Regions from separate parts of the Homo sapiens genome. Here all the other regions are linked to region 4. The links are contacts of gene promoters, found by promoter capture Hi-C in blood cells and fetal thymus (Javierre and others, 2016). All regions are on one chromosome and are shown on one strand. Each heading gives the region's core, a stretch centred on a gene start or on the middle of the fragment in contact. The rest is flanking DNA. Distances are from core to core; before and after follow the strand shown. Region 1 has its middle 47 kb from the start of EXTL2. Region 2 has its middle 84 kb from the start of EXTL2. Region 3 holds the start of SLC71A1 (solute carrier family 71 member 1). Region 4 holds the start of GPR88 (G protein-coupled receptor 88).

Evidence for each region. Contacts are between HindIII fragments. The CHiCAGO score rates a contact against its expected background, and 5 or more counts as called.
Region 1: a fragment that was not itself captured here is called in contact with the fragment with the promoter of GPR88 in region 4 in 6 of 17 cell types (megakaryocytes, M0 macrophages, M1 macrophages and 3 more); the score reaches 10.5 in megakaryocytes.
Region 2: a contact is called between a fragment that was not itself captured here and the fragment with the promoter of GPR88 in region 4, in 1 of 17 cell types (M2 macrophages). The highest score is 5.6, in M2 macrophages.
Region 3: the fragment with the promoter of SLC71A1 here is called in contact with the fragment with the promoter of GPR88 in region 4 in 1 of 17 cell types (monocytes); the score reaches 6.2 in monocytes.

The regions. Positions count from the first base shown.
Region 1 is chr1:100,843,673-100,851,336 of GRCh38, forward strand. No RefSeq gene overlaps it. Among named protein-coding and RNA genes, the nearest start is that of EXTL2, 47 kb to the right of the region's middle. The HindIII fragment of the contact is 954 bases long and covers 4,784-5,737 here.
Region 2 is chr1:100,807,210-100,815,060 of GRCh38, forward strand. No RefSeq gene overlaps it. Among named protein-coding and RNA genes, the nearest start is that of EXTL2, 84 kb to the right of the region's middle. The HindIII fragment of the contact is 2,337 bases long and covers 4,352-6,688 here.
Region 3 is chr1:100,034,994-100,041,930 of GRCh38, forward strand. SLC71A1 (solute carrier family 71 member 1) reads left to right here and starts at 3,102. Exons shown (of 12, transcript NM_033055.3): 1 at 3,102-3,323. The coding sequence starts at 3,240. LOC124904230 (a long non-coding RNA gene) reads right to left here and starts at 3,015. Exons shown (of 7, transcript XR_007066251.1): 1 at 2,737-3,015. SLC35A3 (solute carrier family 35 member A3) reads left to right here. Exons shown (of 8, transcript NM_012243.3): 8 at 1-641. RefSeq lists enhancers at 2,574-3,176, 3,139-3,418 and silencers at 2,899-3,078, 3,539-3,728. The HindIII fragment of the contact is 6,938 bases long and covers 1,784-6,937 here.
Region 4 is chr1:100,534,945-100,542,025 of GRCh38, forward strand. It overlaps GPR88 (G protein-coupled receptor 88), which reads left to right and starts at 3,195. Exons shown (of 2, transcript NM_022049.3): 1 at 3,195-3,558; 2 at 3,950-7,077. The coding sequence starts at 4,023. The coding sequence ends at 5,177. RefSeq lists enhancers at 3,619-4,468, 3,917-4,316, 4,469-5,317 and a silencer at 4,587-4,756. The HindIII fragment of the contact is 8,214 bases long and covers 25-7,081 here.

The sequences.
Region 1 (7,664 bases), core at 4,011-6,510, 310 kb after region 4:
TAGTCTTTATTATGCTAGCTGGTTATTTTGCCCATTGGTTGAAGCTGTTTCTTTGTAGCGTTGATGGTCTTTACAATTTGGTATGTTTTTGCCATGGCTGGTACTGGTTGTTCCTTTCCATATGTAGTGCTTCCTCCAGTAACTCTTGTAAGGCAGGCCTGGTGGTGACAAAATCTCTCAGCATTTGCTTATCTATAAAGGATTTTATTTCTCCTTCGCTTATGAAGCTTAATTTGGCTGGATATGAAATTCTGGGTTGAAAATTCTTTTCTTTAAGAATGTTGAATATCGGCCCCCACTCGCCTCTGGCTTGTAGGGTTTCTGCAGAGAGATCCGCTGTTAGTCTAATGGGCTTCCCTTTGTGGGTATTCCAACCTTTCTGTTTGGCTGCCCTTAACATTTTTTCCTTCATTTCAACCTTGGTGAATCTGATGATTATGTGTCTTCAGTTTGCTCTTCTCAAGGAGTATATTTGTGGTGTTCTCTGAATTTTCTGAATTTGAATGTTGGCCTATCTTGCTAAGTTGGGGAAGTTCTCCTGGATAATATCCTGAAGAATGTTTTCCAATTTGGTTCCATTCTCCCTGTCACTTTCAGGTACACCAATCAAATGTGGGCTTGATCTTTTCAGATAGTCCCATATTTTCTGGAGGCTTTGTTCATATCTTTTCATTCTTTCTTCTCTAATCTTGTCTTCATGCATTATTTCATTAAGTTGATCTTCAATCTCTGATATCCTTTCTTCCACTTGATCAATTCGGCTATTGATAGTTGTGTATGCTTCACAAAGTTCTCGTGCTGTGTTTTTCAGCTCCATCAGGTAACTTATGTTCTTCTCTGAACTTGTGACTCTAGTTAGCAATTCTTTTAACCTTTTTTCAAGCTTCTTAGCTTCCTTGCGTTGGGTTAGAACATGCTGCTTTAGCTCAGAGGAGTTTTTTATTACCCACCTTCTGAAGCCTATTTCTGTCAATTTGTTAAACTCATTCTCAATACAATTTTGTTCCCTTGCTGGCAAGGAGTTGTGATACCTTGGAGGAGAAGAGGAGTTTTGGTTTTTGGCATTTTAAGCCTTTTTGCACTGGTTTTTCCTCATCTTCGTGGATTTATCTACCTTTGGTCTTTGATGTTGGTGACTTTGGATGGGGTTTCTGTGTGGATGTCCTTTTTGTTCATGTTGATGCTATTCCTTTCTGTTAGTTGTCCTTCTAATAGTCAGGCCCTTCTGCTGCACGTTTGCTCCAGTTTGCTGGAGGTTCACTCCAGACCCTGTTTGCTTGGGTATCACCAGCAGAGGCTGCAGATCAGCAATGATTGCTGCCTGTTCCTTCTTCTGGAAGCTTCATTCCAGAGGGGCACCCGCCAGGTGACAGCCAGAGCTCTCCTGTATGAGGTATTGGTCAACTCCTGCTGGGAGGTGTCTCCCAGTCAGGAGGCATGCAAACCAGGGACCCACTTGAGGAGGCAGTCTGTCCCTTAGCAGAGCTTGAGTACTGTGCTGGCAGATCCGCTGCTCTCCTCAGAGTCAGCAAGCAGGAACATTTAAGTCTACTGAAGCTGCACCCACAGCCACCCCTTCCCCCCAGGTGCTCTGGCCCAGGGAGATGGGAGTTTTATCTATAAGCCCCTGACTGGGCCTGTTGCCTTTCTTTCAGAGATGCCCTGCCCAGAGAGGAAGAATCTAGAGAGGCAGTCTGGCTACAGCAGCTTTGCAGAGCTGTGGTGGGCATCACCCAGTCCAAACTTCCCTGTGGCTTTATTTACACTGCGAGGGGAAAACCGCCTACTCAAGCCTCAGTAATGGCTGACGCACCTCCCCCACCAACCTCCAACATCCCAGGTCGACTTCAGACTGCTGTGTTGGCAGCGAGAATTTCAAGCCAGTGGATCTTAGCTTGCTGGGCTCCCTGGGGGTGGGATCCGCTGAGCTAGACCACTTGGCTCCCTGGCTTTAGCCCTCTTTCCAGGGGAGTGAACAGTTCTGTCTTGGTGGCATTCCAGGTGCCACTGGGGTATGAGAAAAACTCCTGCAGCTAGCTCAGTGTGTGCCCAAATGGCCGCCCAGTTTTGTGCTTGAAACCCAGGGCCCTGGTGGCATAGGCACCCAAGAGAATTTCCTGGTCTGTGGGTTGCAAAGACCATGGGAAAAGCATAGTATCTGGGCTGGATAGCACCATCCCTTACAGCATGGTCCTTCATGGCTTCCCTTGGCTAGGGGAGGGAGTTTCCCAACCCCTTGCACTTCCTGGGTGAGGCACCCCACCCTGCTTTGGCTGGCCCTCCTTGTGCTGCACCCACTGTCTAACCAGTCCCAGTGAGATGAGCCAGGTACCTCAGTTGGAAATGCAGAAATCACCCACCTTCTGCGTTGATCACACTGTGAGCTGCAGACCAGAGCTTTTCCTATTCGGCCATCTTGCCAGCCACTTTCTCGGCCATTTTAAATTACATGGGCTATCTCCCTTGTTCCATGCCCTGTCCACTTGCTCTTTTTAAAAACATTCCTATTTTAATATAAAAATACTTCATGATGTAATATTTTATATGTGCAAAAGAAATTATATAACTTGTGCTAGCTTAAAAAGTAAAATAATAAAATAAACACCTGTTAATCCATTACCCAACCTCAGAAATTTACTATCACCAATATCGTTGAAGCTACCTGTTTGTTCCTCCCTGATCCTATTACCCTCTTTCTCCCAGGCGTTAACCACTATCTTGAGGCTTATGTTTACTTTTAGTCTTTCTATGGTTTCACCACAAAATCAGCAATGTATTTTTTTGGTTTTGAAATTCATAAAAACGGCATATCACACAACATGAAGGGCCATCAGCATATCCTCACTAGAATGTCAGCTACATAAGAGCAAAGGCTTTTGTCTATTTTGTTCACTGATATATCCCAAGTAACTATAAAAGGATCTGGCACATGGTAGGCACTCAATAAATATTTGTTAACTAAATTAATAAAAATATAAGCCTTCCAAATAGTTTTGTCCATTTCCTCATATCTGAAGCTTGACAGTTAGGCTTAGTTGCTTAACTGATTGAACACCATGATTGTCAGATACCATTTTTGGTGGTTTACTACCTTACCTAATACAGCTATTTCACTTGTGGCCTTAGTTAATGCTCTATGCATGAACTAAGCTCTTGTAAATATATCCATTTTGATAATGTAAGTTTTCTTTCTGCTTTTCTCCACTGTCTGATTATAATTAGCTGGAACAAGAAATGCTTCTTTAATATAATGAATTTTGCCTCAGTCATAGAAACTGTAAGATAGGACAAAAGAATAGATTTCCTTCTTTCTGCTGCTGAATCACAGATTCTCCTATGTAAGGAATACTTACTTAACCCAACATCTCAGGGATTCATAGATCTGACCAAACATTAGAGTTCTTTGTTGTCTTGTAATATGTATGCTGTTTTGCTGTATATCACTATCAGCATATTTTATACATTTTTAATGTAATTTACAATGCACAATTCCTTAAGTCAAATGTCCTGCACTGAGAACTCCTTCAGGGATTAGTTTTTTTTTTTTTTTCAAATGTGCATTTCTTAGGTTTACTATTTCCTTAGTATATATATTTAGAGTGTGTGTGTATATATATATATATATATATATATGTATATTTTTCTTCCTATTGCTGTTATGGAATCTTTGCTGGAGGTCCTGTGTGATAAAACCTCCAATATGTGGAATGTTATTAACATTTGCTAAAGACCTTTGGATGCAATGCAGAGTTTCTTTTCATGAGAGAATTGTGCAGTGGAAGAGAGAAGACTGCTTTGTGATTATAGCAGTTCTTTAACTGAATTAAGACAGGCAATCATTGGTGTTTCTACTGTGTTGCCAGGGACTTCTATTTATTATCAAGGCATTCTTTTATATTCTGCTTTGTAAAACTGGAAATTCCCTGAGAAATCACCAGGAAAGCTGAATGCCATATAAAGAAAAGAAAACCGAAACCAAGGAGGACAATATGTGGGAAAAAAAGAAGCTAAGACGTTAGAACTGTGCTATTTCCTAAAGATTAACATGTGTTTGAAAGATATAACAATGTTAGTTTTTGGACATAAACATACATATTGTTTGTACTAAGTGTTGCTTTTTCCTAGTCTGTAATCAATGAACAAGCATCTCTTGAATATGTAGTATTTACTTAGCACAGTTTGAGACACTGTGGGATATTCTAAAGAATAATCTGTAGAGCCCTTGCCTTTCAATAGCCTACAATAGAGTAGGAGGAATACAATGGCACATTTAAGCCATAAGACAAGGCAAGATGATACTTAATTACCATAAGTACTAAATTATGAGGTACAGACTATTAGTACTGTAAAATGTACTGGGTTCCCAGAATACTCTCCTTCCTATCTGAGTGGTAGTTACATGGGTATTCTTTTCACAACCTGTTTTAAAACTGTGCACATGTTTTATTTACCTGTTTTAAAATCATAATTCACAATAAAAATGTTAAGTGATAGAAAGAGAAGGAGAAGAATAAGGCCTGGAATAACTGGAATAAAAACTTGTGGGGAAAATATAACTTAAGAATTGGCACAGAAGAGAGAGCAGATCAATACAAATGCAAATGTAGCACAGCTGTGGATGAGTTGGGGTGCAGATGGGTTGCAAGGAAAGAGGGTACCAACTGGAGTGGGCTTGGAGTTTGGGGTGGGTTGTATGGGGTGGTGCAGTAGCTAACATGAGCCTGGACAATTTGAGAGTTAAGGGTTTTGGGGTTGAAGGAGGACCTTGAGATGGAAGTAGAGAAGCTTAGACTGATGTACCAGGTCATCCATATGTTTGGGATTTTAAATTAGGTGAAAGATTGATGACAATGGAATTCAAGAAAAAAATAATGTAGCTGTGCTATGTCTTCTTCACGAAAACAGGATAGGAGCAGGAGTGAGAAAGGGAAGCAGCAAATGAATCATGTAGCAATGAGAGCCTCCTCATCATTACTGGAGAGGAAGAAGTAAATGTAAGAAACACTACAGGTGAGAAATGCTCACGACTATGTAGCTGAGAGGATGTGGGGATGAGCAGGATAAATGAACCACGTATTTTTTGCTCTTGGGAGAATAATAGTGCCAGTGATAGAGTAGTTGGTAGAAACAGTTGGTTAAGAGGAGGAGGTAATTCTGGTCTTTCAAATGTAGAATTTGGAGTGATAATGACAGTAGGGAGTAGCTATATGGGCATAGAACAAGGGCACATAGAGAAATTTTGATGAGCATTTTCAAATGTAAAATACCACAACCAGAAATGAATCCCCATATTGTGTTATATGACAGATATCATAAAGCACCTAAACGATGCTGCTCTCACATCAAAGGCTAAAAATCAAGGTAATTCTCCCTCCTTGAATGTGGTAGCCAAACCCACATATTCCTCTCCCTTTCCATTTCTGACAGTTCCATAAATACCTAAATTCAAAGCAAAGCCTATTTATTTTATCAGGGAGAAAGCAGATGTTCCAGCTGTTGGTGATTTCTGTGCAAGATGAGCCATCCTTACTACATTTTAAATCTTTTTGAACTTGTGTCTTTTTAGCAAACTTGGAGAATTATACTATAGAAATGGAAATCTATAAAACTCCAAAGGGCAGACAGAATTAAGGAGGCAGATTTTGATTCAATAAAGAAAGAACTTTCTAAAAATGTGAATGATCCATAAATGGAAAAAACCTAAGTATATTCCCTCTTCTGGAAATATTTTAGCAAAAGCTTGACTCTGTAGAGATTCTATATATAGGATTCTTACTTTGAGTCAGTGATTGGACTAAAAGACTTCCATGACACTTTATATATTTATTTTCTCCCTCTCATGTATTGAGGCTCAGTGAGGAAAATTTTGAATAATACCAATAAATTTGCTCATTTATTCATCCAAGCAGGTTTGTTTTTCCTATGAGCCAGGAACTGGGCTAGGCATTGGGGATGAAACAGTGAAAGAGACTCTGATCCTTGTCCTCAGTAATCTTGTAGTCTAATAAGGGATACAGTGACCAAAGTGTTAAATGCTAACATCGAAGTAAATACCTGGAACTCAAAGTGAGCATAGCTCACTCTTAAAGAGTCAAAGAAGACCTATCTGAAACATCAACTATTGCACCAAACTGGACTGTTGAAGACAGAAGAGGCTTAAGTCCTTTCTATCAGTCTACTTGCCCAATATTCACTATCTACACACAAAAATTCTATGAGCAAAGCCCATTTTCAGAAAACACAGCCTTATAGAAGGACTTTCAATATGACAGAATGAACTACAGTTTCAGAAATGTAGTTTGGCTTTCTAGAAAACATAAATCCATTTGAGTCTAAAATATTTTAAAACCTAAATAAAATCCTTATCCCCATGAGATGATATGGACAAGTATTAATTGCTTTCTCCTATATTACCTTGACCCTGAACCTCCCCTATCCAGGCAACTAAACTGAATTGTTCCAATGGCCCAAGCAGAGATGTGAGGAAGAAGGGAAGGAGAGGGAATTACAGCACAATCAGAAAATAAATATAACACATTCTTGGCTTTTCAGTTTAAAATGCCCACCTATGTGATAGAAAGATTAAATCAAATACTTGCTGGAGCATTTTCCTCTCTCAGAAGAAAATAACTTAAACCTTTATCTGGACTAAGAGAAGAAAAGGGATATAGTGGAGATGGGAAACAAGATTGTTAAGACATTGACAAAACTCTCTTAGAAAAGATCACCAGACCCTACTTCCCCATACCTCTCCCTCAGTAATTAGCCCCTCGGGGAGATGAGAGCAATAGAATCCTTAGATGAAGTCAAGGTTCTGAGGGTAAATTGAAACTCTATGCTGTATCTCCGATCAGTGCTTTGCAAATTTCAATGTGCATAAAAATTACCTGAGGATTTTATTAAAATACACTTTTAATTGAGTAGTTCTGAAATGTGGCCCAGGAGTCTGCACATTCCCAGTTGATCCTAATGCAGATAATCCATGGTCCACTCTTTGAATAGTAAGATCATGGGGAATTTTTGAAGACAACCTTGTCTCCAGAAATTCCGTCTACCGTCATGGAACAGGCTTAGTAGCAGATGTGGTTGTGTATGTGGGTGTGGGCACCTAAAGCCCAAGGTCACCTTACTGAGCTTCCTAAGAGCCAATAGTGGTGTATGAGAGGAATTAATTTTCTTGCTTTTCAAAAGGGGTGCAGAAACTAGCCAGAGAATTGGCAAGGGGCTCATGGTCATAATGAGGGGACTCCCTGATGAGGGGGAAGCAGTAGGGACCACACCACTATGGTGCAGGTGGGAACAGGGACACCTCTGCAGATGCCATCAGGAAGGTTTGTGCAAGTCTCCATGGGCTAGAACATCTTCATGGGAGCCAATATGAAGGACAGATGCAAGCATGAGCCAGTTATCCTTCCATCACCCCCATCAGAAACCACCATGCCAAAAGCTCCTGGAAATTAAATTTCACATCAGAGAGGAGAGAAGACCCTAACAACTGAGTTTACCCAGAACTGATCTAATTATTTTATCTGCTACTGGGGAAAAAAAAGATCTTAAAATCAAAACCAAGTTGTTACATAAAAATAAAATTATGTTCTTAAATGCTCATACTTATGACCCAAGAACTTCATACTCACTATAGAATATACATAAGAAATTTGATG
Region 2 (7,851 bases), core at 4,270-6,769, 270 kb after region 4:
TGAGTTAACATGTTTAAAGCTGTAAAGTTTTGAAAACAATGTTTGGCACACAGTAAACAAGTCCTCTGTTCATATTCAGAACTTAAGGACTGAATAAGCCTATGCCCTAGGAAAGTATTGTTCAAATGTAACTCTGTGTAATCTGGATTCGATGGACAAGTCTCAGACTCCAAAACACAATACACTTGTCCCCGCTTATCAGTGGGGAATATTTTCCAAAACCCCCATTGGATGCCTGAAACCATGAATAGTACCGAATCCTATATATACTATGTTTTTTCCAATACATACATACCTATGATAAAGTTTAACTTATAAATTGGGCACAGTAAGAGAGTAACAACAATAATTAATAATCAAATAGATCAATTATAACAATATACTGTAATAACAGTTATGTGCAAGTGATCTCTCTCTCTCTCAAAATACCTTATTGTAATATACTCACTTGTTTTTGGATTTCAGTTGACTGTGGGTAACTGAAATCACAGGAAGGGAAAGCGCAGATAAGGGGGGACTACTGTATAGAAAAAGCAGAGCCTGGGGTACTGTGCAAGGACTTGGTTCCGGAGCTGGGCTTAGGTGTGAGAGGTGAGACAGGCTACTCCAAGAGTTACAGAATGTGTGACAAAGAACACTGAAAGATAGTGTGGGGCAAATCAAAGTATTTGAAACTAAACAAAAAAATCCAAGTAAAGAGTCATTCTGAAAGTGTCTGGTGGAGGGAGAGAGAATTAACCTCAGAGAAAGGAAAAACAATATAAAGGCAAACAAAAAGGAAGAGCTTGGTTAAAACTTTGAGGAACTACTTGAGACTTCAGCCTTACTCATTGATAAGAGGGAACCTGGCAAATACCTTGAGTTTGTTCAGACAGAATCAGAGTTCTTTGTAGCATTCCAGTTTTAATATAACTGTTAATTAACTACAAGACCATAAGCAACACAAGAAACAGTCCTATGACCCAATTTCATTATCATTAAGATCTCTTTTAAATGCAATGCAATTTGTTCATTCAACAAACCGTACATGGAGTGAAACAGTCACTGGACTGGGCACTAGGAATACCGCAGTGATGATAAACATTGCCCCTGCCTCCCCAAAGCTATGGTTTAATGCAGGGGTGTCCAATCTTTTGGCTTCCCTTGGCCATGTTGGAAGAAGAGGAATTGTCTTGGGCCACACATAAAATATGTTAACACTAACAATAGCTGATGAGCTTTAAAAAAATCACACAAAAAAATCTCATAATGGTTTTAAGAAAGTTTACAGACTTGTGTTTCACTGCATTCAAAGCTGTCTGGGCCACATGCAGCCCACGGGCCACGCTTTGGACAAACTTGGTCTAATGGGAGAGACCATGCTTCCCATCTGAAAAACAGAGCCTATGATGGAGGAGCCACCCTAGTCCAAGGTCAAGAAAATCTCCCCTGAGGAAATGACATGTAAGCTGAGAATTGAAGGATGAGTAGTATTTAGAACAATAAAATGACTCCAGATAGAAAGAGCAGCAAATAGGCCAGGTGTGGTCACGGCTCACACCTGTAATCCCAGCACTTTGGGAAGCCGAGGTGAGTGGATCACCTGAGGTCAGGAGTTCGAGACCAACCTGGCCAACATGGTGAAACCGCATCTCTACTAAAAATATAAAAATTAGCCAGGTGTGGTGGCATGTGTGTAACCTCAGCTACTTGGGAGGCTGAAGCAGGAGAATCACTTGAACCCGGGAGGTGGAGGTTGCAGTAAGCAGAGATCGCACCACTGCACTCCAGCCTGGGTGAGGGAGCGTGACTCCATCTCAATGAAAAAAGAGCAGCGAATAAAAAGTCCCTGAGATGGTAGGAGCTTGGGACATTCTAAGACCGGAAAAAAAAAAGCCAGCAATGAGGAAGCACAGTGGGGATGCAGAGCAGTGGGAAGAAGTGAGGCTGGAAAGCAGGGGTGTTCCAAGGGGTGCCATTAGCTCCCAAGCTACACATAAACATAAATGCTTAGTAAAGGTAGACTGTTTTTCCTGCTTAAACATAGCCTTCAGAGAAGTCTCCTGGCCGCACTTTCTAGATTACTATCCCTAATAGAACTCTAGAAACAGTTCTGCCAGAGAGATGGGCAAAACTAGAGGCTGTCAAGGCTCTGAGTATTTCAGTTTTTATTCTTACAGCAATGAGCAGCCATTAAAATGTTTTAAGCAGTGATATGAAGTAATCGGGTTTTTACTTTAATATCATGTAAGCTGCCCTGTAGAGAATACATTGCAGGAGCATAAGACCCATTAGCAGTGTTGCAAGCAGTAGATGATAGTGATGTAGACAAGGTTGGTGGCTGTGGAGCCAGAGAGAAGTGGACGGATTGAACATCTTCAGGAGGTAAAAGGATAACTGATAATTAATAGGGCATCGAGGCTATGGGACATACATGATTCTTAAATATTTTCTGAAGTTCCTATAAAAAAACTTCTGTTTTATAAAATTATTCATTTATATTTATATTCATTCAACAAACACCTTTTCCATGTCCAATATATCTAAAATCTGGTTCTATCATTCCACACTGCTATTAGTTGGCTAAACTTAAAAACAGCAGCGTCACTGACCCAGTTTGAGTTCAACATCAGATATATGGGTCCCCAAGGAATAATATCAAGGAGTTCCGTAACTTGGGACTGGAAGAAGGAGGAAATACAAAAGCAATTTCTACCCACTTTACCAATTTGACTAGAAATTTGAACAGCAACCAGCAGTTGAATGGCCTGTACCAGATACTTTCTGCTACAGAAATATTCTAAAAATAAAATATGCCTTCTTAAAATAAAATTTTTAAAAAAGACTGGGTACTTTAACTTTCGTTTTATTAATACCCAGATCTAACCAAAATGAGTTATTCATGCTGAGGAATGATTGATGACTGATTTCATTCTGGAACCGTTTCCATTTTAGTGAGCAAGATTCAGCAACATTTTATTTGGTATAGACTGTCAAGCCAAAAATTAATTTTTAATAGGGAATATTAAAATAAATTTATCTAACATCTGTCTATCAAAATGGAAATTAAAACTTCTAAGTATAAACCCAGCATAATAACTTGGTCTGGAATGAGCTCCTAAAAGAGACTGTCATCACCTTCCAATTGATCCCGTTACTTCCAAGTTGATTCCAAGGGCCTGGCTGGTCTCATCAAGGAATTAAGCTGTATGTGGACCCAGCTCCTGGCAGATCTGATATCTGACAGCAGCAGTAGCAAAATTAGCTTTAGTGAATGGGATCCCACATAATCCCTTCATATCCTTTGGCACTGTCAACATGCCTACTCCATTCATGAACCCATTGTGCTAGCACAGGAGTGGCTGATGACAGAGGCTGGATAATGTAACGGCTGAGTCATTCTGTCAAGTTGGAGGTTATTCATATGTTTCTTTTCCAGAATTTCTTATCCCTGATCTTTAAGTATTTCTCTTTCCAGCTTCTAAATATTCAGCGAAGCCGTTCACCATTACCCATGAACGTCAGTATATCCTTATTTTGAGGCACTTCTTCTACACAAAGAAAAGAACACACTCCACAAACCTCTGTCCATTGTGAGGATATCTCCTTACTGCTGAATTTTAGGGCCATACCTCAGTGGGACTGCAATGCAGCAGCAGTCTTCTTTGGCTTGCACCCACACACTGAGCTACTCTATCCATCAACTAAGGGTGGCTTTTTTCCTCTTCCACCAGGTGTCATAAAGGAATCTCCACTCTTGTGGCTATACATACAAGCTAAGGATGACAGCCCAGGCAGCAGTGTTCAGTGATATGTGAATCTGTGGCACTTGTTCATGCAGCTACTTTTGTCCTCTGGCCTACTCATGACTGCTTCCAGATACAGCATTTCCATCTTAAATGAATACTGGTGCTAGACCCACCAAATCTTATGACTTTGTGAATCTGACAAAACTCAACTTATGATAAGCAGCTCTGGACACATGGTTACTTGTTGCCTCCCAGTCAGGCCCTCTGTCTCTACCAGTGTGCCTGGTAGCATGCCTGGAGTTGTTTTCTGAATTGTTTATAATTCTTCTTGGCTGATGGCATGAACTTTTTCTAGAACCCTAGGGTTCTACATGATGATTCTCCTAGCTTTAGTGGAACAACCCACCAAAATAGGATTTTAAGGATATAATAATATTAAGGATATTTTATAGATACGTCTTTCAATCCAAAAAATGCACATAGGTGGTAAGCTTTTTTACTGGATAGGTAAATCACAGACCTCATATTTTATACTTTCACAGGAGCTGGCCACTTTAGCGTTAGTATTTCAATGCATGGATAGTATAATAAACATTGCATTCGAACTTTTTCACACTTTTTAAAGCTTATTTTACATAAGTGTCTAATATTATTTTCTTTTTTCTTTTCTAATCCCCCTTCTCTGATTCTATTACCCCTCACTACCACTACAACTATCACCATTATACATATATGTCAAATGGGATCTGAATGCATAGTTCAATCCTGAATTTATGCTTCTGCAGTGAGAAATTGGTTTGCCTTTTTGTAATTAACATAGCAAGTGTCATGACAATTGAATGTTATTGGTTAGGTGATGTTCCTTTCTTTCCATATACCTAAAGTATGATGGTTGCTATAACAACAGAACAAGGAGTAGAAAGCATGGCTTTTAAACAGATTTCTGACACAAAAGGGACTTTCAGGACAAACCTTCAGAAAAGAGCTCATAGATTTAACTACTTAAATTATTGGGTATTTGTAGGAATATAGGCTATGACTCTATTCCAGAAATGTGCAGGCAGTAATCAGTCTGTCACTAAGGGTTGAACACTCATAGCTCTATTCTAGCCTTGTAATGTCAGAGATATTTTGTACAGTTTGATGGAATTTCAGTGATTCAGTATAGATGGATCTCCGTTCATGTATGGGAGTGAGAATTTCCCTAAGTGCTCTTTGGAGGCTTCTAATAGGATGAAATGAGAAGAGGGATTTTATTGCTAAATAGGCTTCAAAAAGAGATGATTCTTCTAGTATGGTAGAAATACAGAAGAGTTTATATTTACAGCATCAAAGAAGTTTCTTGTTCTGTGATGACTCTGAAACTGTGTTCTGTGCTGATTTTCCCATTCATAGTTTAGAACATGAAAATATATGTAGTATTTATGTATTTGAAGAAAACACAATTTATTCAAGGGAATAAGTAGACATTTGGCACTAAAATATAAACATGATCACTCATTTGTAAAGCAGACCACTTGATTTCTGGAGATTACTTTATGTCCTTTTCATGCAACTTAGAGATCACAGCCATTACTTTTTTTCTCTTCAATTACTGACAATAGAGGTGGATTTGCTAAATCTTTAAAGTTATTTATTTTATTACTTCTCAGCTGCTCATGACTGGCAATAGAAGATCAATCGTGCAGTCCAGTAGTGGATAAGAGATATTTATATAACTTATAAATAACAAGATAAGAAAAATTTTTTAAAATTTGTATCATATTCTGAGATAAAATGGATATAGTATCATCTAATACATAGCTGGGCACATAACAAATGCTCAATAGCTTTCAGTAAATTGATTGATAAAGTAATTTATTAAATAATTAACATTTCAAAATTTTTCAGCTCCAACTTTTTTTGTAGAACTTTGAGTAATGGAAAAAGCAGAATTTACTTCTTTAGAATCTCCAAATGCCTGTTCAGGAAGGGAATGCTATACATTTAGATAACAATGGAGTTTTAAGCAGGGGAATGGCATAATCAGATATATATTTGTAAAGAGAAGGCAGACAATTATTGGTGTTGGAAGAAGGGAAGGCCAGAGGCAAAGCAACCAGATAAGAGCCTAGTCAAGATGAAAGAAGCTCTAAACTAAAGGGTGGCAGTAATACTGCAGAGGAGCAAAAGGACATGGAGAAAATAAGGGGTAGAGGATGGGTAGAAAGACAAAGTGTTCATGGAAACTGCCAGAAAATGAAATCAGCAATGAGTCCCAGATATCTAGCTTAGGCACAAATGTGGAGAAAGGTATCATTGATCAAGGTGGAGAAAACAAAGCAAGATATTTTAGGAAATACAATATGAGGCATTTTCGATATATTAAAATAGAAAATCCAAAAAATAGCTGAAGAATGCAGGTCTAGTGCTCAGAAGGTATCAAAACCAGGAATATGGTAAATAAAGGAGCAGTGGAATAAAGGTATGTGGAGTTGTAAGAGATAAGGCCCAAGAATAGGGAAGACTAACATTTTAAAGACATATAGAAGATGAAGAGTTTATTTAAAAAAAAAAAAAAAAGGACTGAAAATGTGTGAAGAGAGAGTTAAGAGCAAAATCAGAAGAAGATGGTGCTGTGGAAGCTGAAGCAAGAGAGAATATCAGAAGGACATAGTCCATGGTGTCCTTGCTAGAGACCTAGACACCCAAATACAAGAACCATGAAGAACACCTGGGAAATTCATTGCAAAAAAATCATTGCCTAGGCACATTGTCATCAGGTTTTCTAAAGTTAAGATGAAGCAAAGAATCTTAAGAGCTGTGAGACAAATGCACCGGTAACCTATAAAGGAAAACCTATCAGATTAAGAGCAGATTTCTCAGCAGAAACCCCACAAACTAAAAGGGATTGGGGCCGTATCTTCAGCCTCCTTAAACAAAGCAATTATCAGCCAAGAATTCTGTATCCAGTGAAACTAAGCTTCATATATGAAGGAAAGATACAGTCTTTTTCAGACAAATGCTGACAGAATTCACCACTACAAAGCTACCACCACAAGAACTGCTAAAAGGAGCACTAAATTTTGAAACAAATCCTGGAAACACATCAAAACAGAAACTCTTTAAAGCATAAATCTTACAGGACCCATAAAACAAAAATACAATTTAAAAAGCAAAACAAAAAGCCAAGGTATACAGGCAACAAATAGCACAATGAATGGAATAGTGCCTCATATCTCAATACTAACAATGAATGTAAACGGCCTAAATGTTCCAATTAAAAGATACAGAATTGCAGAATGGATAAGAATTCACCAAGCAACTATCCGCTGCCTCCAAGAGACTCACCTAACACATAAGGACTCACATAAACTTAAGGTAAAGGGATGGAAAAGACATTTTGTGCAAATGGACACCAAAAGTGAGTAGGGGTAGCTATTCTTATAACAGACAAAACAAACCTTAAAACAGTTAAATATATAGCAGTGATAAAAGACAAAGAGGGGCATTATGTAATGATAAAAGGCCTTGTCCAACAGGAAAATATCACAATCCTAAACATATATGCACCTAACACTGAATCTTCCAAATTTATGAAACAATTACTACTAGACTAAGAAATGAGACAGACAGCAGAACAATAAGAGTAGTGGACTTCAGTACTGCACTGACAGCTCTGGACAGGTCATCAAGACAGAAAGTCAACAAAGAAACAATAAATTTAAACTATACCCTGGAACAAATGGACTTAATAGATATATACAGAAAATTCCATCCCACAACCTCAGAATATACAGTCTATCCAACAGTGCCTGGAACTTTCTCCAAGATAGACTATATGATAGGCCACACAATGACCCTCAATACATTTAAGAAAATTGAAATTAGAAAGCGCTCTTTCAGAGCACAGTGGAATAAAACTGGAAATCAACTCCAAAAGGAACCTTCAAAATCATGCAAATACATAGAAATTAAACAGCTTGCCCCTGAATGATCATTGGGTTAAAAATAAAATCAAGATGGAAATTAAAAAATTGTTTGAACTGAATGACAATAGTGACACAACCTATCAAAACCTCTGGGATACAGCAAAAGTGGTGCTAAAGTTCATAGCCCTAAATGCCTACGTCAAACAGTCTGA
Region 3 (6,937 bases), core at 1,852-4,351, 500 kb before region 4:
TTCTGTTGATCCTAACCAAAAAACCCTAACTGAGATATCAGTCTCTTAGCGCAAAGTTTGTGAATACGGTCATCCCTCCATATGAGGAGGGGAGTGGGAATTGGTTGTGGGACTTCCGTGGATATCCAAATCAGTGGATGCTAAAGTCCCTTACATAAAATGGCATAGTATTTGGTTATCATCCTCCCCATACATCATCTCTAGATTATTTATAGTACTTAATACAATGTAATGCTGTGTAGTCATACTGTATTTTTTACTTGTATTTTTGTTGTTTTGTGGGATTTAAAAAATATTTTTATTCTGAGGATAGTTGAATCCACAGGATACTGAGGGCCAGCTGTATTCACAACCCAAATCACATACAAAGCGACAAGTTCATACACAATAGGCCTATTAGAACAGGACTGTTCTCTCTTGTTTATCATTGCAGCCTTTCTAGCACAAAGCCTGGGACATTCTGGACATTTAGTATGTGTTAAATTTCTCTTACTACATTATTTCCAACAGTATTTACTGCAATCTGCAATTACCTTCCTTTTGTTTTGTAACTGTGTCCCCCACTAGAATGTAAGCTCTGTGCAGATAGTGTCTCATTTATTGATGTATCCCTGGCATCTAATAAAACACTGACAACACAAGCACCCAGTAAATATTTTTTGAATGACTGAACAATAACCAGTTCATAAGGCTGATAAAATTGGTATAGCTAGATGAAGTATGATTTTGAGGGACTATGAAAATCAAAGTAACCACACAATAAATTATCAGCCCTCTACTTCCATTCAAAACAAGCTCCTGGGAATTGAATTATGAAATCTATCATATTACTTTCTCTAAAGAACTTCAAGTTGGGTGTCAACTAAAAAGTTGCAGGCGAGGCGCGGTGGCTCAAACCTGTAATCCCAGCACTTTGGTAGAACTGAGTATCTCTTGAGGCCAGGTTTGAAACCAGCCTGGTCAACATAACCAGACTCTGTCTTTACAAAAGAAAAATTAAAATTAGCCAGGCATGGTGGTGTGCATTTGTAGTCCCAGATACTTGAGACGCTGAGGCAGAAGGATCGTTTCGGAAGAGGCTGCAGGAGGCCATGATGGCACCACTGCACTCCAGCCTGGGTGACAGAGTGAGACCCTGCCTCAGAAAATAATAATAGGCCACGCATGGTGGCTCACACCTGTAATCCCAGCACTTTGGGAGGCTGGGGCGGGAACATCACCTCAGGTAAGGAGTTCAAGCCTGGCCAACACGGTGAAATTCCATCTCTACTAAAAATACAAAAAAAATTAGCCAGGCATGGTAGTGGGGACCTGTAATCCCAGCTACTCGGGAGGCTGAGGCAGGAGAATCACTTGAACCTGGGAGCTGGAAGTTGCAGTGAGCCAAGTTGGCACTATTGCACTGCAGCCTGGGCAACAAGAGCAAAACTCTGTCTCAAAAAATAAATAATAAAAAAAGTTTCAAAATGAGAATATATGTTTCAAAACAAGTATAATGAATATACTTATTGATTGGAAAATATAATTAGAAGTATCTATCAGGCTATAAATTGCTTTTCTTCTCCCTTCCATGGAAATTAGTTTTTTTTTCCATTTTTAGTCAGTATGAAAATACAAGGAAAAGGAAATTCAATCAAATTTACTTTTTAACATTTTATTTGGAAATAATTTCAAACTTACAGAAAAGTTGCAAAAACAGTACAAAGAACTCATACATTCATTTACTGTTTTTCCTTTTACCCTATATATTAGTTATTTATAGCTGTGTAACAAATAACCCCAAAGCTTAGTGGCTTACACCAAGTACTTTTCATCTTACACTGTTTCTGAGTCAGGATTCCAGGAGTGGCTAAGCTAGGTGGTCCTACCTCTGGGTCTCTCATGAAGTTGTAGTCAGCCAAAGGCTTGACCAAGGTTGGAGGATCTACTTCCAAAGTGACTCACTCCGTGGCATTTGGTAGGAGGCTACAAACAGTTCCTGGACAACTGGATCTCTCCATAGGCTGCTTGAGTGTCCTGAAAACACGGAAGCAGGCTTCCCCAGGCTCCAAGCCCCAAAATGAATGAAAAAGAGACCCGCAAAGGAAGATGCAGTGCCTTTTATGACCTAGCCTCTGAAGTCAATACTGTCACTTCTGTTTTGATCTATCAAGAGTCACTAAGCCTAGTCTACACTCAAGGGGAGGGGAATTAGAGTCCACCTCTTCCAGGGAGGAATATCATTGAATCTGTGAACATATCTTAGAACTACCATACCTAGTTTCAGTACTTTTAAACATTCGCCATTTTGCTTTGTCCCTCTCTTTTCCCCACCTACATATACATACACATACATGTTACTCCCTAACCATCTGAGAGTAGGGAGCATGCGGTGTATCCCTATCCCTCGTGTTTTTCTCTTAAGGAAAAGGATATTCTATTATACAACACGGTAGTTATCAATATCTAATTTTAACATTGTGATACTTTAAAGTCCACTTCCACTTGTGTAAATTGCCCTTTCTAGCAATGTTCCCATCAAATTTATTTTTAAACAATACAGTAAAAACGTAGAGGGCCACAAAGGGTGACATCGGTCAGGTAAGGTATTTTTTTTGGCAGGGAATAAAAAAGGTCCTGGGTCTAGGGAGGTAAACAAGCGTGAGCCAGCTGAGTTCTAGCGGGGGTCCCTGAACACCAAAAGGACAAGACTGTTTCTGAAACACTACATTATCTCTTAAGTTACCCATTACTTACGGAAAATGATTTTTTACTGTTCCCTTCGGTTCCTGTCTTGGTTAGAACACAGCTGGAGATTGTGTTAATAGCTTAGGACGTCTGTTTCCGTGAGCAGGTAACAACTTTTTGAAACAAATTCCCTCATCTGCTGAAGAAGGGGGACAAAAACGGCCCCTATCGCCCAGAACCGTTGCGAGGATTTAGCTAGCTGGTGACGCCGGAGCACGAAGTTGTACAGGTAGCCAGCAGCACCCACGCGAGCCCGCGGTTACCCTGGCCGCGCGGCTACTGTAGAGTGGGCTGGCGGCGAGCGGGCGGGGCGGTATCACGCGGGAGGGGCGGGGCCCGCTCGTCGGCTGATCGCACGATTGTGACGCGCCGCCGGAGGCAGGCCGGGCCCTCAAGATGGCGGCGGGCGCCCAGAGCGGCTCGGCCCGGCAGTAGTGGTGGGACGGCACTAGCTGCTGGGGCCTGCCGCCCCGGGAGTGGCTGCAGCAGCGCCAGGAATCGAGGATGGTAAAATGACCCAGGGGAAGAAGAAGAAACGGGCCGCGAACCGCAGTATCATGCTGGCCAAGAAGATCATCATTAAGGACGGAGGCACGGTGAGCTGAGTTCCGCGCCGGCGAGCGTCCCTCGGGGCCCCCATCCGGTCTCTCCTTCAGACCCCCACACTGCCGTCTCTAGGCGTCCCGGTGCCTCCCTCCCTTCCCCCACCCTGTCCGAGCTGCCGGTGCCTCGGGGTCGCGGACCCGCATGCCGCCGCTCCGGGAATCGTCCTCCGCTGCTCGGGCTTGCGGCCTCCGGGGCCCGTCCTCTTTCTTTCCCGCACCTGCCGCCCTCTGCTCTGGCCGCCTCTGCAGGCCCTGCGGCCTCGAACCCCACGTGCGCCTCCGCCGCGGGGAGGAATGTGCGGGGCTCCCCCGGCGGCCCGCCCGCCGCGCCCCTCGTCGCCGCAGCCTCGCCTCGCCTTCGCCGCCAGGCCCCGCGGAGCCGTCGCCGCGCTTGTCAAGGGGCTGGGAACCATCCCTGCTCTCCCATATGTTGCTAACGGGGTGGCGTCTGGCGCGGGGATCCCGCTGCGGCCCCGTAGTACGTTCGCTTTCTGTTTCCACGTCTCTCTGCGTCGGTGCTCCGGCTCTGGGCTGCTTACAGTAAACCCTGACCGGAGATGGGCTTCCCTCACTTCCCGGAGTCGGAAGCATGACGGCAGACACCTGGGGCCTACATTCGAACCTGCTAGTTTTCAAAGAAAAGTCATCACTGTGTGTCTTAAGATCAAAAGTATTAGAATCAGTCATGGCCTAAGGATCGGAGGAGGACACTTTGAAGGGAAGAAAGGTTTGCTTTTTAGAAACAGTTGTCATCACAGTAAACTTTATGCAGTGTGTAGTTAACCAGCTGGGGACGTAGGATTTTTAATTGAAAAACAAAACAAAACAAAACTGTTTTATGCTAACATTTCTCCGTTGCTACACTGTGTGGTCTTTGTTGCATCCGCTGATACCGCGTTCTGAAATAGAATGGAAAGGTGATATATATGTTTCACTTACCTGAAGTGTGCAGAAATTGTACCATTAATTCCATTTCTGTTTATATCTTATTGGAGCCGCGATCAACTGCTAGCACAGTAGTAAATGTGTAAGTAGGCCACCATTGAGGATTTGCTGAATTCAGTTGAAAAACGTGACAAAATTTTATGACATTTCAGAACACGGCCCAGTCAATATGCCAAAGTTTAGAAAACTTGAGACATATGTAATGACTTTGGAATATATTTTTAGTTTAACGTTTATTATATGTTATAGCTTTGACATTTATTGAAAAAAAGAAACAAATTCCTCAAGTTCTTTTTATTGAACTTGATTAATTAAAACATTACTTTGATTAGATCGGTTATGAAGAGTCATAGCTCTTTTGACCAAGTAGGTAAGAACTATGTGGGGAGAAAAATACTGTTGCCTTTGTCTACCTTTAGAAAGAGACAATATTTTACATTCTTCATAAAATCTACAAAATAGTGGCAATGAAAGATTGTATTTTGTAAGACCAAGTGATATTTAAGATCAGTATTTTTTACAAAATGTAAGAATGAAACTGATTAAGAAACACAGCTTCCTTTTCCTTGGAAAGTTCAGTTTTATTACCTTTCTTTGGGGTTTTGTTTGATTTGCTTTACAGCAGATGCTTTCTTTCCAAATCCTGTGAGTTTTGGAAAAGATCGTTTTTAAACTTTCTTGTCCTATTATTAAGGTTGTAATTAATTCTTAGCCTGCTTTGGGACACAAAATAAAATGTTTGCACCAGCAATAGGTTTCACATAGAACAAATGAAGACTTTTCTTGAGGGCTGTGAACATGGGGGCTATTATCATTTCTCATCTTTATACACTTAATATTTCATTCTCTATTCTAAGAGCACTGGGCACTCCTTTAGAAAAGGGGCTTTGTTTTGTATGTTTGGATCCCACAGGGCCTAGTATGTGAATTTTAAAGTGATAAAAACACTTCTATTTTGTACTAGCACATTCCTAGATGAATTTTTATTGTAATTTTGTTTATTCTTATACGTAATCAGAGGATATATTTCAATAAATATCAGGGGAATATTTTGCATTATTTGTATTTTAATCCATCCCAGCTTTAAATTTAAAAAGTATAACTATTGCAGTCATAGAAATGATTGTAAAATGGTAGTTGCTTATCTACCTCTCTACTTACAATAGTTCAGACTACTATTATGAACTTTTTTTGTTTGTTTGTTTGAGATGGAGTCTCACTCTGTTGCCCAGGCTGGAGGAGTGCAGTGGCAGGATCTCGGCTCACTGTAACCACCGCCTCCTGGGTTCAAGTGATTCTCCTGCCTCAGCCTCCCGAGTAGCTGGGACTACAGGCACGTGCCACCATGCCTGGCTAATTTTTTATATTTTCAGTAGAGACAAAGTTTCACCATATTGGTCAGGCTGGTCTTGAACTCCTGACCTCATGATTCACCCACCTTGGCCTCCCAAAGTGCAGGGATTACAGGTGTGAGCCACCGTGCCCAGACTGAACATTTTTTAAGAAAGGGGAAAAAATTGCCATTTGATACTCTGTTGTTGTGTGTTTTTTAATTCATCGTATCATAGAATATTTCAGTGCTATTGCTGTTGACCTCAGAGTTTCAGAGTTTTTATAAAGTTCCGCCAATGGGTAGATTCATTCAGTGAGATGTCTGAGGCTCTATGGTCGGTACATGACAGTCGTGAACAGTATTTCACATACCTGGTCAATGGTACTGATTTGATCCCCCTTCTGATTTCTTCTTTTCAACAATGTTAATAAAATTCTTTCCCGTTGTCCTGCTAATGACATATATGTAAGCCTATTTGGCCAGTTTAAATATTTATAAACAAAACTAGTAAGAGTTGTTAATGATTTTTCTGAAAATTAGAGCAGATTAGAGCAGATTTGTAGTTTTCAACGGCTGAAGAAATAAATCCTTCTAAATGAGCCAGATTAATCGTAAGTTACTGATTTTTTTATTGAAATTGTATTTCATTGAATTGTATTTCATTCAGCTGAATGAAAAACAGGCCAGGATAAAGCTAACAAGTAGGCTACCTATGTGAGTAGACACAATTAAGATAAATTACATTAAGGTGTGTGATTTTATATTAGGTGTTTTTAACCTGGGTCTGTTCACCCTGAAGTTGTTTGCAAAATTTTCTTTTGGCTATACATGTTTCTTGGAAGAGTCCCAAAAGGTCCATACTTCCCAAAAGTTTAAGAGCAATTGTTCTGTTTGAAAACAGCATAAGTAACTAAAGAATAAGTTCCACATATTATATTCAGTAAATATTTAATCATATACTGTATACTACTTCACTGATGAAAGTAACCATATTAGTGAATTTGCTTTTAAAGCATCCATATATAGAAATAGTTTTTAGGCCAGGGGCAGTGGCTCACGCCTGTAATCCCAGCACTTTGGGAGGCCAGTGTGGGCAGATCACTTGAGGCCAGGAGTCTGAGACTAGCCTGGCCAACATGGTGAAACCCCATCTTTACCAAAATTACAAAAATGAGCTAGGTGTGGTGGTATGTGCCTGTAATCCCAGCTACCCGGGAGGCCGAGGCACGAGAATCACTTGAACCTGGGAGGCCAAGATTGCAGTGAGCCTAGATCACGCCACTGCATTCCAGCCTGGGTGATGGAGTGAAACTGTCTCAAAAAAAAA
Region 4 (7,081 bases), core at 1,945-4,444:
CGTCTGCAACTCTGGAAAGAAGTAAGCTTGGTGGGAAAGAATCTGTGGGTGACCCATAGGCGAGAGTGGAAGGCAGGAATCAGATGAGATCAATTAGGGAGAGAGAGTAGGGTGAGAAGAGAACCAAGAAGAGAAGCCAGGAACACTATCTTAAAGGAGCCATGACACTGGGGAGCCAGAGACTGAGTCTGGAAGGGAGCAGACAGAGGAACAGAAGCAAAGGGAAACCTGGAGGGAAATGGCACTGAGGAGGAGGGTGTTCTTCACAGAGTCAAAGTAGAGGGCAAGGATTTAGGAGTCACGATTTGCTACTGAGAGGCTACTGTTAACCTTGGCCAAAGCTGTTTCTGTGGAGCAGGGAGAGCTAAGGGCCGTGTGGGTGGGTATTCAATGGTAAAATCAGAAGTAGAAGGAGAAAATGAGCACTTCCATCAGGAAGGGGAAGTGAGCTGTGTGTAGGCACCATGAGAAGGAGGTGAAGTTCCAGGGGAGTTTTATGAGGTTGTGGTGAAATCAGCATTTTTGTAAGTCTGAAGGGGAGCAAGCAGTGGAGAGCAGAGAGACTGACAAGAGACAGCAGAAAGCAGATGACTGATGGGGCAAGTTCCTGCTGAAGGTGGGAGGAAAGAGATGCTCATAAAAGTGAATTACTGTTTCACCGTGGAGAAAACATAAATGAAATCATTTACACTGCCATTCACTTATTAATTCAGTAAGTATTGATTAAGTTTCTACTATGTCCCAGGCACTGACCTGGTGCTGGAAATAAGATAGAAAAAATTCCCACCCTATATTATGTAAGTTCATTAACTTAAAACAAAAGGAAAACCAAATCCAGAAACAAACAAAAATTTGGCCCCTGTCAGGCCAGCGCTAAGGGAGGCATGGTCTTGGAGGAAGTGTGTGTGACTGCCAGGCACTGGAGTCCCTCAGCAGGAATGCTGCTCGTCTCAAAGGCAACACAAAGTGGCAGCTGGGACCAGGGATCCAGAATTTGAATACCCTCCCACCACATTCTATCAGAGAGTCCTTTAGGACTATGTTAATGTGAGAGAAAAAACTTTACTTCAATGGCAAGTTTTAACTATGAATGATTAGGAGAGTCTCCTTTCTCCTGAAACATTGCTCTTAGGGACAGAGTGGAAAAGACTCCTGGACATATGGGCCAGAACTACAATGCATGTTACAGAGAAGAGGTATACGCCATGTGTCATAACTAGAAAGGAGAAATGCAGGCTTGCTGTGCTTAATGCACTCAAAACCTCAATAAGGACAAATGGCAATAGGCAAAAAGATGATGACAAATACTCATCTCATTTACATCAGTAAACTTGATATCGAAACCTTCAACCCTCTGAATAGCAAGTCACTGGTTCTTTTCTTTCACTTCCCCCTCCGGCCCCTGCCCCTGCCCCAACCAATTTCATTCAGATATAGCTTAGCTGGACCAAATCTATCAAGTCATGCTTATCCTTAATCCTCATCAGAGTTCTTGAAGTCATCAACTAACCATATTGATTTTGAAATAGAAAAAGAAAAGCAGAGAAGCTGTGTTTTGACCTCTCTCCTGAAACATTGCTCTTAGGGACATATGACCCAGAACTACAACTGCAATGCATGTTAGATAGAAGAGGTATATGCCATGTGTCATAATTAGAGAGAAGAAATGCTAAATTCATGAATAGGGATTCACAGAAAGTTTTAACAGAAAGGGCCTTTGAAGTGACTGACTGTGAACTTATTTGACAAGATGAAAATAATCCATCGCAAGGCTACATGATGGATGCTCGGCTTAGTATCTGGGTGTGCTGCAACCCCACCTAACATTTTTTTCTATTATGCCATGTTACCATATTCCCATATTGAGTTACATTTTCAAATACATGACTTTTCCAGTGAATAATTGAGAGAACTCCTTTTCTGAAAAAATTCCCACATGGAATGGATAAATGAACACTTGCACCAAAGAAGATGCCAACATCAGACTGCAAATCTCCAAGACAGACAAGACAAAAAGTTCTGAAGTGAAAAGTCATCTTTGTTCACACTGTGGATTATTCAGGTTTCTTGCTTTCCCCCTGACACACATTTTTTTAAAATTGACTTTATTTTTTTAGAGCAATTTTAGATTCATGGCAAATTTGAGTGAAAGATACAGAGATTTCCCATGTACTCCCTGCCCCTCGCATACATAGCCTCTCCCATTATCAAAATCCCCCACCAGAGTGGTTCGTCTGTTACAATTGAATGTACGTTGACACATCATTCCCCAAAGTCCATGGCTTACACTGATGTTTCACATTCTGCCACTTTGGGCAAATTTATAAGTACACAGATCCACTATTATGGTATCATACAGAGTAGTTCCACTGTCCTAAGAATCTTCCGTGATCATCTATTCATTCCTCCTTTCCCCCTAACTCGGGCAACCACTGGTCTTTTTAACTGTCTCCATAGTTTTGCCTTCTCAAGAATGTCATAGTTGGTAGCATACAGTATGTAGTCCTTTCCAGTTGGCTTCTGTCACTTAGTGATACACACTTAAGGTTCCTTCATGTCTTTTCATGGCTGGACAGCTCATTTCTTTTTAGCACTGAATAATATTCCATTGTCTAGATGTACCACTGACATCTGCTTTAAATCTTTTGCCCATTTCATTTTTACCCTCTAACCATTTCATTACTAAAACACAAAACAAACTCCGGAAAGGAGTTTGTTGATGAGAAAACACTGAAAGTACGATTTAAATTGAGGAATGGAGATTTTCTGTGGATAATTGTCTATGTTCCACTTTACCAAAGAAAAATGAATTTCAAGTAGTGCATAAAGTAATTCTCGTTAAAAAATGTGGGAATAAAGAGATCAGTCCTGGGTACTGGGAATATATTTATCTCACAGAAAAATCTTGCCCACAAAATGCATCAGACTGAGATGAAATACTCTAGGGTATATTAAATTTTATTCTAATATTGAAGGGAGGGAAAAAAAGGACGGAAAGAAAAATGAAACAGGATGAAAAATAAGGTGATTGGGAGAGAGAAAAGACAGAGAAACTTGTTAACGACAGGACTTTCTGAGCAAGATATTTTTCTTCCTTTTACAAGTTGGAAGCTATTGAATAATTCATGCCAAGCGTGGAAAGGCTGTCTTTTCCCTGGATGATGTATAACTAAGCAGGAGAGAGCTTCGAGTGGGTTCACCACATCAGCCACCACTCCTGCTTCTGAGCACAGGGTGCTCTCCTCTTGAGCTCAGCTTCTGCTTTTGCAGCCAAGCATTCTTGCTGCTGCTGCCTGCCTGCCCACCCGCCTGGGCTTGCAGCCCGCCACTTTACTTTCTCCAGCCCTGATACCAGCTGAGAAGTCTCCCTGCAGCTGCTAGTTCCTGCCCAGGACCATGTGTGTGGATGCTGCTTGGGAGAAGCGGGCACTTGCTCCTGGCACTGATCCCAGCTGAGTTTCTCCTGTTGATTTCTGGACCACTGATGCTGTTGCTGAGGAGGTATTTCCCGGCATCCCTCCCCCTGAGACACCGGCTAAGGACCAGCCTAAACGCAAGGTAACCTTCACCTCTTTCCCATGGGATTTTCCCCAGCTGGGATATCTCTGCTTTCTCCTGGAACTAGGTCCTCCAGCTGGCAACATATCTCTCTCTCTCTCTCTCTCTCTCTCTCTCTCTCTCTCTCTGTGTGTGTGTGTGTGTGTTGGGGGAGAAGAGGAGACTGTTTTAGGTATTGCTCTGTCCTAGGGCTTCCCCGATACCTGCTGAATCCAATGCAAAGTGGCCTTTCCCCTGGCTCTGGAGACATTTCCGAGGCAGGCACCTGTCATCTGCCACCCCCGTCCTCCTCCTCGAGCTCCCTTTCTCCCCCTCCCCCAGCCCATTATTCTGCTTCAGCCTTTTGTGTCAGTGGCAGAGGGCTGAAGGGATGTCTTTGCCCTTCTGGCAGGCAGGACAGTGTCAGGATGGACCGCGCTGCCAGAAGCCGACGCTAGCGAGGGAGGTGTGAAGAGTTGGCCAGAATGACCAACTCCTCCTCCACATCCACCTCCTCCACCACCGGTGGCTCGCTGCTGCTGCTCTGCGAGGAAGAGGAGTCGTGGGCGGGCCGGCGCATCCCGGTGTCACTCCTGTATTCGGGCCTGGCCATCGGGGGCACGCTGGCCAACGGCATGGTCATCTATCTCGTGTCGTCCTTCCGAAAGCTGCAGACCACCAGCAACGCCTTCATCGTGAACGGCTGCGCCGCCGACCTCAGCGTCTGCGCCCTCTGGATGCCGCAGGAGGCGGTGCTCGGGCTCCTGCCCACCGGCTCTGCGGAGCCCCCCGCAGACTGGGACGGCGCTGGGGGCAGCTACCGCCTGCTACGGGGTGGGCTGCTGGGCCTCGGACTCACGGTGTCCCTCCTCTCCCACTGCCTCGTGGCCCTGAACCGCTACCTGCTCATCACCCGGGCGCCCGCCACCTACCAGGCGCTGTACCAGAGGCGCCACACGGCGGGCATGCTGGCGCTGTCCTGGGCGCTCGCCCTGGGCCTCGTGCTGCTGCTCCCGCCCTGGGCACCGCGGCCCGGCGCCGCGCCACCGCGAGTCCACTACCCGGCGCTGCTGGCCGCCGCGGCGCTGCTGGCGCAGACAGCTCTGCTGCTGCACTGCTACCTGGGCATCGTGCGCCGCGTGCGTGTCAGCGTCAAGCGGGTCAGCGTGCTCAACTTCCACCTGCTGCACCAGTTGCCCGGCTGCGCCGCCGCCGCCGCCGCCTTCCCGGGCGCCCAGCACGCGCCGGGCCCCGGTGGCGCCGCGCACCCGGCGCAGGCCCAGCCCCTGCCGCCCGCGCTGCACCCGCGGCGGGCACAGCGGCGTCTCAGCGGCCTGTCGGTGCTGCTGCTCTGCTGCGTCTTCCTGCTGGCCACGCAGCCACTGGTGTGGGTGAGCCTGGCCAGCGGCTTCTCGCTGCCGGTGCCCTGGGGAGTGCAGGCGGCCAGCTGGCTCCTGTGCTGCGCCCTGTCCGCGCTCAATCCGCTGCTCTACACGTGGAGGAACGAGGAGTTCCGCCGCTCCGTGCGCTCAGTCCTGCCGGGCGTCGGCGACGCGGCGGCCGCTGCCGTTGCCGCCACAGCCGTGCCCGCAGTGTCCCAGGCGCAACTGGGCACCCGCGCCGCGGGCCAGCACTGGTAACCTAGCCGGGGCCCGAGGGAAGCGGAGATCCCCGGCTTCCGACGTCCTTGGGCACCGTCGCCTCCTTCCCTCCTAGGGCATCCCCTGCCTGAACGAAGACTTCCGCCGCGAAGCCCGATAGATCGGGGGAAAATGGGGCCTTCGACCCCAGCGGGCTACCTGAACCAAGGCGTCTCTTTAAGTGGGGCGCCCGAAGTCATTTTGGACGGCCACCTGATTTTTACCCTTTGTTTCTGTGTTTTAGAGGAATCCTAAAGTCAAAACACCAGAGACTTGAAGAACTTGCAAACTGGCGTTTTAAAATAACCGGTTAATTTATTTCCACACAGTTTGTTTTTGAAAAAGAGCTTTCATAATGTATAACCCTTTCCACTTTCATCGTCTTATATATGAAGCGCCTTGAGTGTGCATGAACCAAAGGAAATAACATTGAAGAAGGAAAACAATATGTAGAAAGTATTTTAGAAAGTAACCTGTCTTTGATGATGCTTCTCTTACCATTTAGTTTTTGTATATTACCCTGGGGCAGTGAAGCCCTAGGTGTGCCCACCAGTATGAGTTGCCATTAAGACCTCAAGCCCTTTATTCTTAAAAGGGTTTTTAATAAAGTCTTTCTCAAATGAGGTAGAATCTTAGCCAGTGAGAAAAAAAATTATTTTATGCTCCTTTTTTTTCGCACTCTTAAGACTGAAAATTGGCGTTGAGTGTTATAGTGAAAATTTTCCAGTTTGATAATTGATGGTCAGAGCCAGCACTGGAATTTTGAAAACAAATAAGGTGATTATCTATTTTAGGTACCGTTTCACATTTTCTATAGCATGCACACTTGTTGCTACCCTCATTTTGTAACCAATTTATTTGCCTTATGAATGTGATTGCAGCTTTGAACATTCTGTACTATAATGGTTGCTAAGAAGAATAAGTCCTTCTGTTTTCTCTTTAACATTTAAAATATCTCAATGCACATGATATAATTAAACACTAATAATACCATGACTGCATAGCTAATATTAGCTGCTATTGCATGCTCCTAGATGCTAGAACTTATTGGGCATGTGGTATACTGAAGCAATACCCGTTAGACAAGGATATTTTACTTCTTCCAGACACCAGAAGAAATGGCCTTCAATTATTTGAAAAGAGACACAGAGACACCTCTGGCTACCTAGAGTTCTTCCTGTCTTGACCCAATTTATGAGAAAGCTCCCAGTTGGGACTTTATCTCACAAGTGGAATCACAGTCAAGACGGATCAATAATATGGTTTGGCTCAGCAAAGCCAGCTGTGCTCTTTTAGGGTTTAAACAAGCCACACGTTAGAAAGCAACACTGTTTTTATGTAGTTCATATATATTACCATGACATTTAACATCAATATCGTATATGTTGAAGGAGGTATAATAAACTCAGTCATATATAGTGAACAGTTCAAATGGGAAAGTGTTCTAAAACATATTATTTGAGATTTGTCATATTCATCTTTGGTTTACTAAATTTACTTAGAAATATTTGAAATGCAAAATTGTGTGAAATCACCTTATCAAATTAAAATGGGAAGAAAGTAATTTTAATAATTTTTAATAATCATATGTCAGCATTCTGACTACTTACCACATCAAATCTGGGCCCAAACAGCCTCAGTTAACTGCATAATTCAGGAACAAAACCAGCTTGCTTTGTTGCACGCCTGGGCAATTTCAGCCAGGACATTAGGACCACTTGTTGTACATCTGAATAATTATGGAAGTTGGGACATGTTAAGGAAAACAAATATGTTCATCACCAACAATCAGCTGTCATTTTATTAATCTATCCCTTTTGTGCATGCACCATTTCTCTCTTACTAACAGTTTCATCTGTTCACATTTTCCTTGATTCAAATATTAAAGTTCAGACAACTATTCT